4 separate regions of the Homo sapiens genome follow, and all the other regions are linked to region 2. The links are contacts of gene promoters, found by promoter capture Hi-C in human tissues and cell types (Jung and others, 2019). All regions are on one chromosome and are shown on one strand. Each heading gives the region's core, a stretch centred on a gene start or on the middle of the fragment in contact. The rest is flanking DNA. Distances are from core to core; before and after follow the strand shown. Region 1 holds the start of TMEM204 (transmembrane protein 204). Region 2 holds the start of NDUFB10 (NADH:ubiquinone oxidoreductase subunit B10). Region 3 holds the start of IFT140 (intraflagellar transport 140). Region 4 holds the start of CLCN7 (chloride voltage-gated channel 7).

Region 1 (2,976 bases), core at 440-2,939, 430 kb before region 2:
GTTAATTAAGGAGGAAATAAATTCTTCCCCCATGGAAACTTTTGGGAGACTTCCCTTTCAAGGCCCCCTTCTGCACCGTGTGCTTAGGAACACTGAGTGTTTGAGACACTGCACCCCCGTCCACCTCCGAGGAGCAGGGCACAGGCAGGAAGGGCTGGGGACATCCCCCCAGGGCCTTCCGAGCCACCCGGGAGAGTGGGGGCCGGCAGCACCACTGTGCCCCGCACGCCCCGTCAGGTTCCGGGGGCTGAGAACAGAAATAGAAACAGCAGCTTTTCCCTGGGCACAAGCCAAGGAAGAGGGGAAAGGAGAAACCTGACGGACACGTCTGCGACAAATCCCCGGGGAAAATCCCCCCCAGGCACGTCCCTCAGGAAGCCAGTGGAGAAACGCTTCTCAGGACCCAGCACGCACCACGGGCTGGTGAGGACGGAGCTGCTGCCTTTCTGGAACAGACACAGGGCGTGTGTGGGGAACCTTGCTTCACCTGTGGATATACAGAGCCACATGCCAACGTGTGAATGGAGACTGGTCCCAGGAAGTGGCAGCTCTCGGGACCGCCCTGAGCCAGGGCCCAAGCACGGGCAGTGCAAGGACAGGAAACGGTCAAAGCTCTGCTGTTACCACAGGCTGGGAACAGGACTCTCTGTCCCAGCACTGTCTTGGGCGTGTGCCCATGAACAGTTTGCACGGATGTGGGACACCTGCATTCACGAAGCTTTGGAGCCTGGGTAGGCTGGGAATCCCATGCTGGGTTTCGGGTCTCTGGAGATGGGACAGAGTAGGAGACCCTCTCGTGGTGTCTGCCCAGCTGGGCAGAATAATTCTGAGCAGAATAGACGAAGATGCTTCTGAGCTCCCTGGCAGCATAAGCTCTGCCCGAGAGCCTGACCACTCACAAGGTGACCTGCCTAGTCCTGTCCCCAGCTGTGGGGGGTGACCGTTCCCATCAATAGCAGAGGTGGCCCAGGCCCCACGTGACATTCGCTCTGTCCCAGGCCCCGCTGAGAGCCCCACCCAGCACATCCAGAATCTTACCCTTCTTGCCACCTAAGAATGACCTGGCCTCGAGGTCCTCCAAGTACAGGTCCCTGGCCCCGAGGTCCTCCAAGTACAGGTCCCTGGCCCCAAGGCCCTCCAAGTACAGGTCCCTGGCCCCGAGGTCCTCCAAGTACAGGTCCCTGGCCCTGCAGGTCTGGGTGAACTTGCTCCCTCCAGGCACACGGGTCTCTCCCCTTCCCAGCAATCCTGTGATATCTGCCCCCCTTTTGAGGGCAGCATTCCCGTGGCGGGGGCAGGCCTGGAACACACGGGCGGGGGGAGGCTTGTGGTTCCTATGGTCCTGGGGGTACCTATGGTCCTGGGGGCAACTGGATGGCTGGGGGGTGTGAAGTCCCCAGGGCAGGCAATAGTCGCTCAGTACCAGCCTCCAGGCCCCGGGGGCCACCAGGCTTAAAAGCAACAGGCGAGACGAGGGATCTGTCCCGCACCCGGCATCCCTGGCCTCTCCTCTGGGACAGGAAGATGGGGAGGGGCGGCAGGAGGTGGGCCTGGAGCAGGGCCTCAGAAGTCTCCTGGCCTTTCCCATCAGGAAGCACATCCTGTTGGTGTCTGGCTGCCGCGGCAGGGCCGCTATTTGTTGCGGTTGGCTACGCCTTCCAGCTCACCAAAAACAGTCTCAAAAACAACCATTTCCTCTCTGCTGAGAGCCAGGGAAGGCGAGCTCTGCGCACACGGGCGTCCCTGCAGCAGCCACTCTGCTTTCCAGGACCGGCCAACTGCCCTGGAGGCATCCACACAGGGGCCCAGGCAGCACAGAGGAGCTGTGAACCCGCTCCACACCGGCCACCCTGCCCGGAGCCTGGCACTCACAGCAGGCCGGTGCTAAGGAGTGTGGCGCGGGCTCGACTCCCACTGCTGCCGGCCTCCCGAGTGACTCTGTTTTCCACTGCTGCAGGCGAGAAGAGGCACGCGCGGCACAGGCCGGCCTCCGCTTCCCGGGAAGACGGCGCACTCCTGGCCCTGGGTTCTTGCTGCTGCCCACCCTCTGCTCCCTGGGATGGGCCCCGAGGCGAGCAGCTTCAGCACAGGCCTGGCCCTGCTCCAGGTGCAGGAAGGAGGATAAGGCCGGGCCGAGAGGCGGCACACCTGGACCATCCCATGGGCCTCCGCCCGCGCCGCCCCGAGGATGAGTGGTGATGTCCTCTAGCCACCCCTAGCAGCGTCGGCTCTCCCTGGACGTGCGGCCGCGGACTGGGACTTGGCTTTCTCCGGATAAGCGGCGGCACCGGCGTCAGCGATGACCGTGCAGAGACTCGTGGCCGCGGCCGTGCTGGTGGCCCTGGTCTCACTCATCCTCAACAACGTGGCGGCCTTCACCTCCAACTGGGTGTGCCAGACGCTGGAGGATGGGCGCAGGCGCAGCGTGGGGCTGTGGAGGTCCTGCTGGCTGGTGGACAGGACCCGGGGAGGGCCGAGCCCTGGGGCCAGAGCCGGCCAGGTGGACGCACATGACTGTGAGGCGCTGGGCTGGGGCTCCGAGGCAGCCGGCTTCCAGGAGTCCCGAGGCACCGTCAAACGTAAGTCCAATTGTTTTCCTGATGCCTTCAGCGTGGCCGAGGCTCGAGGGCACATGGGAGATGTTAGGCGCGGACCTGGTGAGCGGGTGGGGAGGCCTGGCCCCTGCTCTGCCCTGAGCGTGGCCTCTGGGCAGGCAGGAGGGGGCACTGTGTCTCCCAGGGAACCAGGCCCCAAGGCCCCCTCTCCCTGGTGAGTGGTGGCCCCACACACTCCTCCTGCTCAGCACAGAATCTGCCTCCAGCTCTTTTACACAGGAATTCATCTCAGGCATTTGGGGGGCCTCTCTGCCGTTACACATAGTTAAGAGATGGGTACATTAATCAAATCAAGGAAAGGCATTTTTCCTTGGTTGAAAATAATTATTACGGCTGGGCGCAGTGGTTCACGTCTGTAATC
Region 2 (2,548 bases), core at 49-2,548:
CTGGAGCAGGGGGCGGCGCTCGTCGGGGAGGTTCGGGCCGCACAGGAGCCCACGGAGTGGGGGAGGCTCAGGCATGGCGGGCTGTAGGTCCCGAGCCCTGCCCCGCGGGGAGGCAGCTAAGGCCTGGCGAGAGAAATCGAGCGCAGCGCCGGTGGGCCGGCCTGCTGGGGGACCCAGCACACCCTCCGCAGCCGCTGGCCCGGGTGCTAAGCCCCTCATTGCCCAGGGCCGGCAGGGCCGGCCAGGCTCTCCGAGTGCGGGGCCCGCCGAGCCCACACCCACCTGGAATTCGCGCTGGCCCGCAAAGCACCGCGCGCAGCCCCGGTTCCCGCCTGCGCCTCTCCCTCCACACCTCCCCGCAAGCTGAGGGAGCCCGCTCTGGCCTTGGCCAGCCCAGAAAGGGGCTCCTCAAGTGCCGCCAAAGTGGGAGCCCAGGCAGAGGAGGCGCCGAGAGCGAGCGAGGGCTCTGAGGACTGCCAGCACGCTGTCACCTCTCACTGTTTGTCTGTAGGGTTGATGGTTCTGTGTCGCTGGCCTCAACCTCAGGACAGGACATGACCAGTGTCCCCCCTGGATAGCAGCCAGGGGCCGTGCCAGGTGTGGAGACTGAAGATGTGGCCAGCAGGACCCTGCTCAGTGGAGCTGCCTAGAAGCACCAGAGTGCCCCAGGGCCAGGATGGAACCATCAAAGCCGGCCAGAGGGCCCTGTGCCCAGGGTAGGTGCCTTCTCCCTATGAGCCGCCTAAGGGCAAGCCCTGCCTCCTGGTCTGCTCCCTGCCCTCCCCCAGACAGGCTCCCAAGTTAACTGGCACCAGCCAGTCCATGAGGGGCCCTTGTAGAGAGCGGGGCCCAGAGAAGTCTGTAGGGACTAGGCAATCCAGGAAAGCTTCCTGGAGGAGTAGGGTGTTTGGAATCGCGTGCTATTTGTTCACTTTGTCGTGTGCGCTCTAACGGCCTGTGTTCTCCATCACAGTTTATCTTATTCCCTGCTGCACTCAGCACAGTGCCTGGCGCGCAGTGGGAACCGAATGACCCCCTCCTATTCCTTATGTCAGTTGCCTTTTGTCTGTTTCTTTCATCGTAAGCAGGAATCTGTCCGGTTCGCGGCTGCTTCCCAGGCGCCCAGACCAGCGACCAGCACCGCGTAGGCGCTCGGCACAGACCGAGAACGGAGGCCCCACGCGGGGGCGCCCTGCGGCGAGGCGGGTCCCGGCCGCGCCCGGCGGAGCCGGGGAACTACAAGTCCCATGGTGCATCGCGGCGCCAGCGCGCAGACGCAGCCGCCCTCGGCGTCCTCTGTAGCGGGCGACCTAGGCCGCGGGACCCGGACGGAGGTAGAGGCCAGGGCAGCGCGTCCGGGAGCGGAGTCCGCGCCCGCCGCCGCCATGCCGGACAGCTGGGACAAGGATGTGTACCCTGAGCCCCCGCGCCGCACGCCGGTGCAGCCCAATCCCATCGTCTACATGATGAAAGCGTTCGACCTCATCGTGGACCGACCCGTGACCCTCGTGAGAGGTACGAAGCCCCAGCCCGGGGCTCCCTCGCCGGCCTCTGGGGACCCCTGGATCCCACACCCTGCCTGGATCCTCCAATGCCTCCGGGGTCCCGTCTGCCTGAGACCGCCCCCCGCTGCACCCCGGGGACAACTCCCCACCCCCGGAGACCTCCGAGCTCCGTCGCCTCCTTTGGCCTCCCACTGCACCCCGGACCTCACCTCCCAGGATCCCTTACTCTCCCCTGCACCCCGGGATGCCCCGCTTCTTCCCAGGACTCTTCCCTCCCTGCCGCACCCAGCGCCCACTGCCCCAGGACCCCGCACTGCTCTCCGCCCCCCGCCGCCCCGGGCACCCCTCCACTGCACCGCTGGCCTCAGGCCTCTCTCAAATGTCTCTCTGCCGGATGACCAAGTGTCGGGGTGATGGCCGAGATGCCCAAATTCAGCATCTCTGGAACGAACCGGGAAAATGCCCAGTTCAGTTTTTGTTGTTTTTTTTTTTCCTGAGACAGTCTCACTCTGTTGCCCAGGCTGGAGTGCAGTGGCGCGATCTCGGCTCACTGCAACCTCTGCCCCACCCCGGGTTCAAGCGATTCTCCTGCCTCAGCCTCCCCAGTACTAGGATTACAGGCGCACCACCACCACGCCCAGCTAATTTTTATATTTTTAGTAGACACGGGGTTTCACCATGTTGGCCAGGCTGGTCTCGAACTCCTGACCTCAGGTGATCCTCCCACCTTGGCCCCCAGGTGCTGGGATTACAGGCCTGAGCCACCGTGTCCAGCCTGGTTCAGTTCTTTTTGAACACTTGGGGTGCATAGCATGCTCTGGTGGTTCTTCCGTAAGAGGGTGAAGTCTCCAAATCAAACCCCCAAAGATCTGGAAACCGTGCAACAGCGGACCCAGCTCCCTCTCTTTTGTAGCAGTTGTAGAGCATGTCTGTCCTATGTGTCTGGATGTTCGAGCTCTCCTTTTAGCTCGTTCATTTCCCAGTGAGGAAGCTGAGGCCGTAAGGTGGTAAGTTCTGCTTGCTGGAGGCTCCCTGTTGGAGCC
Region 3 (2,773 bases), core at 214-2,713, 350 kb before region 2:
CCCGGCCTGGCTCCTAAGGACCTGGGTCGGCCGCCCTAGCCCTAAGGCCACTCACCTCTGCCAGGCCGCTGAGCCGCCGCGCGTTGCCGGGACAACGGCGCGCCAGGAACGCGGAAATAGCCGAAGGTGAGCGAGGCGGCCCCGAGGACTCCCGAAGCGCCCCGAGCGGCCGGAAAGAGCCGAAGGCGATCGGGCACGCACGTGCAGCTCCGAGGCCCGAGCGTCGGGGGCCAGGTTATTCCGCTCTGCAAGAGAGAAGCGGGACGAGCTTTTTCTAGGAGAGACGGCGGCGCAGGGCCGGCGTCTGGGTCCCCTTTGTGTGGAGGGCGCGCTGTCACAGCCCCGATCAACCGCGGCATCCTCCCCTCCTGGGCGTGTTCCCTTCCCGTGCATCCCGAGGCGGAGCCTTTCCAGCACGCGGCGGTCTCGGCCCAGGCCTTCCCTGGGCTCCGCTTTTCTAGTTTCGGAGCGGAGGGCGTGGGTCAAGCGTTTCTGGGAAAGTCGATGCGCTCGGCAGTGTCCTGAGGTGTTGGGTGACTGAGGGCCTGTTCCATCGCCGGGCCCCGGACTCCACAGAGCCAAGCGAGGCAGGGAGCGCCCCCAAGAAAGCAGCTGGCGGCCGGACGCGGGGCTCGCGCTTGGGCTTCCAGCTCTTGGGGGCTGGGGCGGGCGGATCGTTGGAGCCCAGGAGTTCGAGACCAGCCTTGGCAACAAGGCGAGATCCTGTCTCTAAAAAATTACAAAAATTAGCCGGGCGCGGTGGCGCCTCTAGTCTCGGCTACAGGAGGCTGAGGGAGGAGAATCGCCTGAGCCCCGGGAGGCGGAGACTGCAGCGAGCCGAGATCGGGCCACTGCACTCCAGCCTGGGCGACAGAGCGAGTCAAAAAAAAAAAAAAAGAAAAGAAAAAGAAACACTGGAATTTGAGCCGGGCGCGGTGGCTCACGCCTGCAAACCCAGTACTTTGGGAGGCTGAGACGAGCGGATCACTTGAGGTCAGGAGTTCGAGACTAGCTTGGCCAACATGGTGAAACCCCGTATGTACTAAAAACACACAAATTAGCGAGTATGGTGGCGCGCGCCTGTAATTCCAACTACTCGGGAGGCTGAGGCAGGAGAATCGCTTGAACCTGGGAGGCGGAGCTTGCAGTGAGCCAAGATTGCGCCACTGCACTCCAGCCTGGGCGACAGAGCGAAACTCCGTCTCAAAAAAAAAAAAAAAGAAAGAAAGAAACACTGGAATTTGAAAAACACCCCTCTGCTTTCTTGCTATGAAGAAAATGACCAAGTGCCCAGCGCCGCTCGGCTACGCTAACGTAGCGCAGAAGCACATACTCCACCCAGGAAAGGGTGCGCTTAACTGCCTCAGACGTGCTTCCACACTTCTCAGAACTCAGGTTCGCGCCCGATTCCACACTCCGAGCTACCACGCCGTTTTCTTCTCACGTATCCGTCAACACTGCTGCGGCCAATCACAGCACGGGCCCTGGCCTATTGGCTGTCTGTCCACCAATCCAAAGAGACGCACAGTCCGCAAGGTCGCGAGGCTGGCGTCACAACACTACTGGCGCCGCGGGCTCGCCCCCGACGCCCACCGGGCTCGTACGTGCGAGCGCGCCCGCCCAGCGCTAGCCAATGGGAGCGCCGTTTTGGGGAGACGGGCCCGAAGAAACATTGGGGGTGCTCGCCCCCGCGTTCGTCGCCCCGCCCCGCGCGCCCGCGCACCCCGGCCCCGCCCCCGCGCGCCGTCCGTGAGGTCCCCACCGGCCGCCGTAGCCGGAACTGCTGCTGAGGGCGGCGGGCCGGCTTCGCTAGGGTGAGTGGCGGCAGTATCTGCGTCCGCAGCCCCCGCAGCCGCGCGCCGGCCCGCGGAGGGGACGTGCCGGGGCTAGCGCCGCTCGACCAGTCGCTTCCGAGGCGGACGACCAGCCCGGCGTTGCGGCCTCCCTGCAGCCGGCGCTCGGGGGCCGGGGCTGCCCGGCCCGGCTGGTTCTGCGGGCACCCGGGGAGGCCCCGGGAAGCCAGGCTGCCGCCCGGCGTTGATGAAAAAGGTGACCAAGGCTGGGCGGCGGGGCTGTCATGGCGAGGCCCGGCCGGGGGGTCCTGTCGGGCGGCGCGGGAGAGCGCGGGGGGGGCGTCGCTTCCACAGCGCCCGGTACAGCCACAACTGGCCTCAGGGCGAGGAGGCTTCTGCGTCCCCATCCCGAGACGCGAGCCGGTGCGGAGCGGGACGGGGCTGGAGGAGACTGCGCCTCCGAGAAAAGTCCGGTCTCGTTGGAGGTTCTCGCGAAAAGGAGGCCATCCCCCTGCTTGTTGGCCCTTAGGGTAAAGTCTGGACGGCGTCGGTCCTTTCAGTGGCGAAAAGCGCTTCCCCGTGCTCGGTCGGCGTCTTGGGTGTGGAGCCCGGCGAGCGGGCGAGTTCACTCTGGTGGCCGAGTTTGTTTTGCTTGGGTCCCGGGTGGCCTGCGGGCGGACAGGTCCCTGGGCAGCGGGGTTCTCAGCCCGAGACGAGGTCTTTGGGGGTTTAGGTTTCTTGAGTGGAAAGAGGTGGGTTGAGGGGGAAGAGTGGGAAGTCTTGCCACGAAATCCCTTAAGTTGGGGTGTTTGTCGTGGGTGGTTTTGTTCTTTGGCAGAGTTTTTTTTAAAACTAGCATGAACTCGAGATTCCCTAGACCAATTCCGACAGGAGAAAACGGCCACGGATCCTTGTGTGATCTGCACCTCAGGGTGGGGGCATCATTGCGACTTTGAAGCCATTTCCCGATCTCTCGGAAA
Region 4 (2,960 bases), core at 127-2,626, 480 kb before region 2:
TGTGAGCCACCGTGCCCTGCCGTCCTTCCTAATCTTTAAGCACAAGACAAGTGTTTAAAGGACTAGACAAGAGAAAATGTAAAGAATAACTGCAAAGCAGATTAAGACCCATCAACAAAACGGTCCATTAACTCAAAAGTAACACAATACGGCCAGGCGCAGTGGCTCACGCCTGTAATCCCAGCACTTTGGGAGGCTGAGGTGCGGGGGATCACGTGAGGTCGGGAGTTCGAGGCCAGCCTGACCAACACGGAGGAACCCCGTCTCTACTAAAAATACAAAATTAGCCGGGCGCGGTGGCGCACGCCTGTAATTCCAGCTACTCAGGAGGCTGAGGCAGGAGAGTCACTTAAACTCGGGAGGTGGGGGTTGCAGTGAGCCGAGATCGCGCCATTGCACTCCAGCCTGGGCAACTACAGTGAAACTCCGTCTCAAAAAAAAAAAAATATTAAGACAATACACAGACAGGGAAACAAATGTACCCGCAACGGTTCTCCAGACCTTAACACTGCTCAGACGCACGCTGCAGGGTGACATGCGGAACGCATTCCAACCTCTGACTTGCTGCTTATTGTGTTTGCCTGCACATTGCAAATTCAACTCGGTGCGAAGGGAGACTGAGTACAAATACTCGTCACTCCCAAGATCACCTGAAAGTCGGGACTGATCCCCACACAGAAAGATGGCAGATAAAGGCGCTCAGTCATTCTCACTGAAAGACAGTGACCCGGCTGCAATCTTAACTGTTTCCATCTCCCAGGGGGTCAAAAACGCAAACAAAATTAGTTGCTCGTGTAGGATGACAATTTTTAAAAGTCACCTGAACAGAAAGCCACTTGCACCCCTTTAGGGCCAGTCTGGGGGACACCGGAGGGAATGAACGTGCGCCACGGCTGCCCCGGCGCCCCTCAGCGCCCCACATTCCGCGGGGTCTGGCGAGCTCCGCCTCGCCCACGCAGCCCTCCCGGCCACCGAGCCCGGCGCGGCCTCCGAAGACTCCAGACCCCAGGCGCCCCCGCCAGCCCGGCCCCGCCGAGGAGCCCCGGGGCGCGTTCCCGAGTCCACCGCGCCTCGGTCGCCTCCAGGACCGAGACACGCGGCGCCGCCAGAAGGCTCACGAGGGCGCGGGCTGCGGGGCGCACGAGGGCTCAGTTTCCCCGCCTGCGCCCTGCCCGGCCTCACCTGGCGCGCAGCCCCAGGCCCAGCCCCGTTCAGCAGCGGCGTCCCCCCGCCGGGCCGCGCCGTCCTCCGCAGCAGCGGCGCCGCCTCCTCGTCGTCCCGGTCCCGGCCGGACCAGGACACCTTCTTAGAGACGTTGGCCATGGCCCGCCGCGGAGCGACACCGGCCGGGAAGCGCCGGCTGCCCCCGTGTTTGTTCTCGTGACCCGCGCCGGCGGCCACGTGACGCGCGACGGGGCCACGTGATGAGCGACGGCGACCATGTGACCTGCAACGGCAACCACCGAGGCCCGGTCGCGCGGGGGCTCCTGGGAGCCGCGCTCCCGGCGGGTCGTGGCGCCGCCCGCCCTAGAGAATCGCCGCGGCCCTGAGGACCCCGTTCTGCCCACGCGACTGCAAAGGCGGCCCCGTTGGGCTGAGCGCCGAGTGCTTGGGAGGCGAATGGCCGCCCCCGGGACCTCGGGCCCGGGAGTCGGGGCGAGGGAAGCGCCCGGGGCCTGAGGGCAGGAGCCGGCTGGAGGGGCTCCCCCAGGCCCGGTCGCCCGCGCCGATCGTGACGGAGCCGCGGTGGGGAAGGGAGGAGGGAGGCAGGGGCGAGGGCAGGCCTTTCCTTGCCATAGGCGGCGGCTAAAGACGTGAAGGATGAAATTAGAAGTCCCGAAGCATGCATCCGCCCTCGCAGTAGGCACTCGGGCGAGGGTCGGAGTGGAGGCTTCCTCCAGGCAGCCCCAGAGGGTCCTCCCGCCTAATGAGAAAAGAACAGAAGGCGAGTCCTCTTCAACGATCAGGCCCCAGAGACAGTACAGGAGGGTCGCCTCTGGAAACTGCCGGCTACTACGCAGATAGCTGTGAATTAGCCAAATAGCCGCCCGGACCCTGTACCCGCACCAGGGCACAGCCCATCACTAATCAATGGTATTTCCATAAACCAAAGAGAATTCTTGACAGCTTTACATCAGCCCCCACCCTGTCCCCACCTTCTGGGTCATTTATTTATTTATTTTGAGACAGGGTCTCCTTCTGTCGCCCAGGCTGGAGTGCGGTGGTGCGGTCACAGCTCAGTGCAGCCTTGACCTCCTGGACTCAAGCCATCCTCCCGCCTCAGCCTCTGGAGTAACAGGGACCACAGGCCTGCACCACCACACCCGGCTAATTTTTGCTGTGGAGCTCACAGTGTGTTGCCCAGGCTGTTCTCAAACTTCTGACCTCAAGTGATCCTTCCACGTTAGCCTCTAGAGTAAACTCTTTATATTTTGTGCCTCATCCTCTTCCTTTTAAAAGGTCGATATTTTTATTATTGAGACGGAGTCTCACTCTGTCGCCCAGGTTGGAGTGCAGTGGCCCAATCTCGGCTCACTGCCTCCCGGGTTCATGCCTCAGCCTCCCGAGTAGCCGGGACTACAGGCGCCCGTCACCATGGCCGGCTAATTTTTTGTATTTTTAGTACAGATGGGGTTTCACTGTGTTAGCCAGGATGGTCTCGATCTCCTGACCTCGTGATCCACCCGCCTCGGCCTCCCAAAGTGCTGAGATTACAGGCGTGAGTCACGGTGCCCGGCCTTTTTTTAAATTATTATTATTATTTTTTTATTTTTGAGACACAGTCTCACTTTGTCACCCAGGCTGAAGTACAATGACAAGATCATAGCTCACTGCAGCCTTGACCTCTTGGGTTCAAGGGATCCTCCTTCCTCAGCCTCCTGAGTTGCTAGGACTCTTCGTATGAGCCACCATGCCCGGCCATGGTTGGCATTTCTTTTTTCTTTTTCCTTCTTTTTTTT

The links. Contacts are between HindIII fragments. The study calls those that stand out against the background at their distance.
Region 1: the fragment with the promoter of TMEM204 here is called in contact with the fragment with the promoter of NDUFB10 in region 2 in 1 of the 25 tissues and cell types used here (lymphoblastoid cells).
Region 3: the fragment with the promoter of IFT140 here is called in contact with the fragment with the promoter of NDUFB10 in region 2 in 1 of the 25 tissues and cell types used here (dorsolateral prefrontal cortex).
Region 4: a contact is called between the fragment with the promoter of CLCN7 here and the fragment with the promoter of NDUFB10 in region 2, in 1 of the 25 tissues and cell types used here (dorsolateral prefrontal cortex).

What each region holds. Positions count from the first base shown.
Region 1 is chr16:1,531,977-1,534,952 of GRCh38, forward strand. TMEM204 (transmembrane protein 204) reads left to right here and starts at 1,690. Exons shown (of 3, transcript NM_024600.6): 1 at 1,690-2,579. The coding sequence starts at 2,300. All of the region lies in intron 19 of IFT140 (intraflagellar transport 140), which reads right to left. RefSeq lists enhancers at 1,016-1,719, 1,720-2,423. The HindIII fragment of the contact is 11,677 bases long and covers 1-2,301 here.
Region 2 is chr16:1,958,240-1,960,787 of GRCh38, forward strand. It overlaps NDUFB10 (NADH:ubiquinone oxidoreductase subunit B10), which reads left to right and starts at 1,299. Exons shown (of 4, transcript NM_004548.3): 1 at 1,299-1,515. The coding sequence starts at 1,386. RefSeq lists an enhancer at 1-356 and silencers at 1,079-1,388, 1,819-1,928. The HindIII fragment of the contact is 2,906 bases long and covers 266-2,548 here.
Region 3 is chr16:1,610,609-1,613,381 of GRCh38, forward strand. IFT140 (intraflagellar transport 140) reads right to left here and starts at 1,464. Exons shown (of 31, transcript NM_014714.4): 1 at 1,360-1,464; 2 at 56-245. CRAMP1 (cramped chromatin regulator 1) reads left to right here and starts at 1,752. Exons shown (of 21, transcript NM_020825.4): 1 at 1,752-2,049. RefSeq lists silencers at 1-170, 1,409-1,938, 1,959-2,078, 2,109-2,268 and enhancers at 1,199-1,258, 1,647-2,147, 2,148-2,648. The HindIII fragment of the contact is 16,182 bases long and covers 1-2,773 here.
Region 4 is chr16:1,473,652-1,476,611 of GRCh38, forward strand. CLCN7 (chloride voltage-gated channel 7) reads right to left here and starts at 1,377. Exons shown (of 25, transcript NM_001287.6): 1 at 1,183-1,377. The coding sequence starts at 1,323. RefSeq lists silencers at 1,120-1,329, 1,450-1,799 and an enhancer at 1,337-1,880. The HindIII fragment of the contact is 17,994 bases long and covers 1-2,960 here.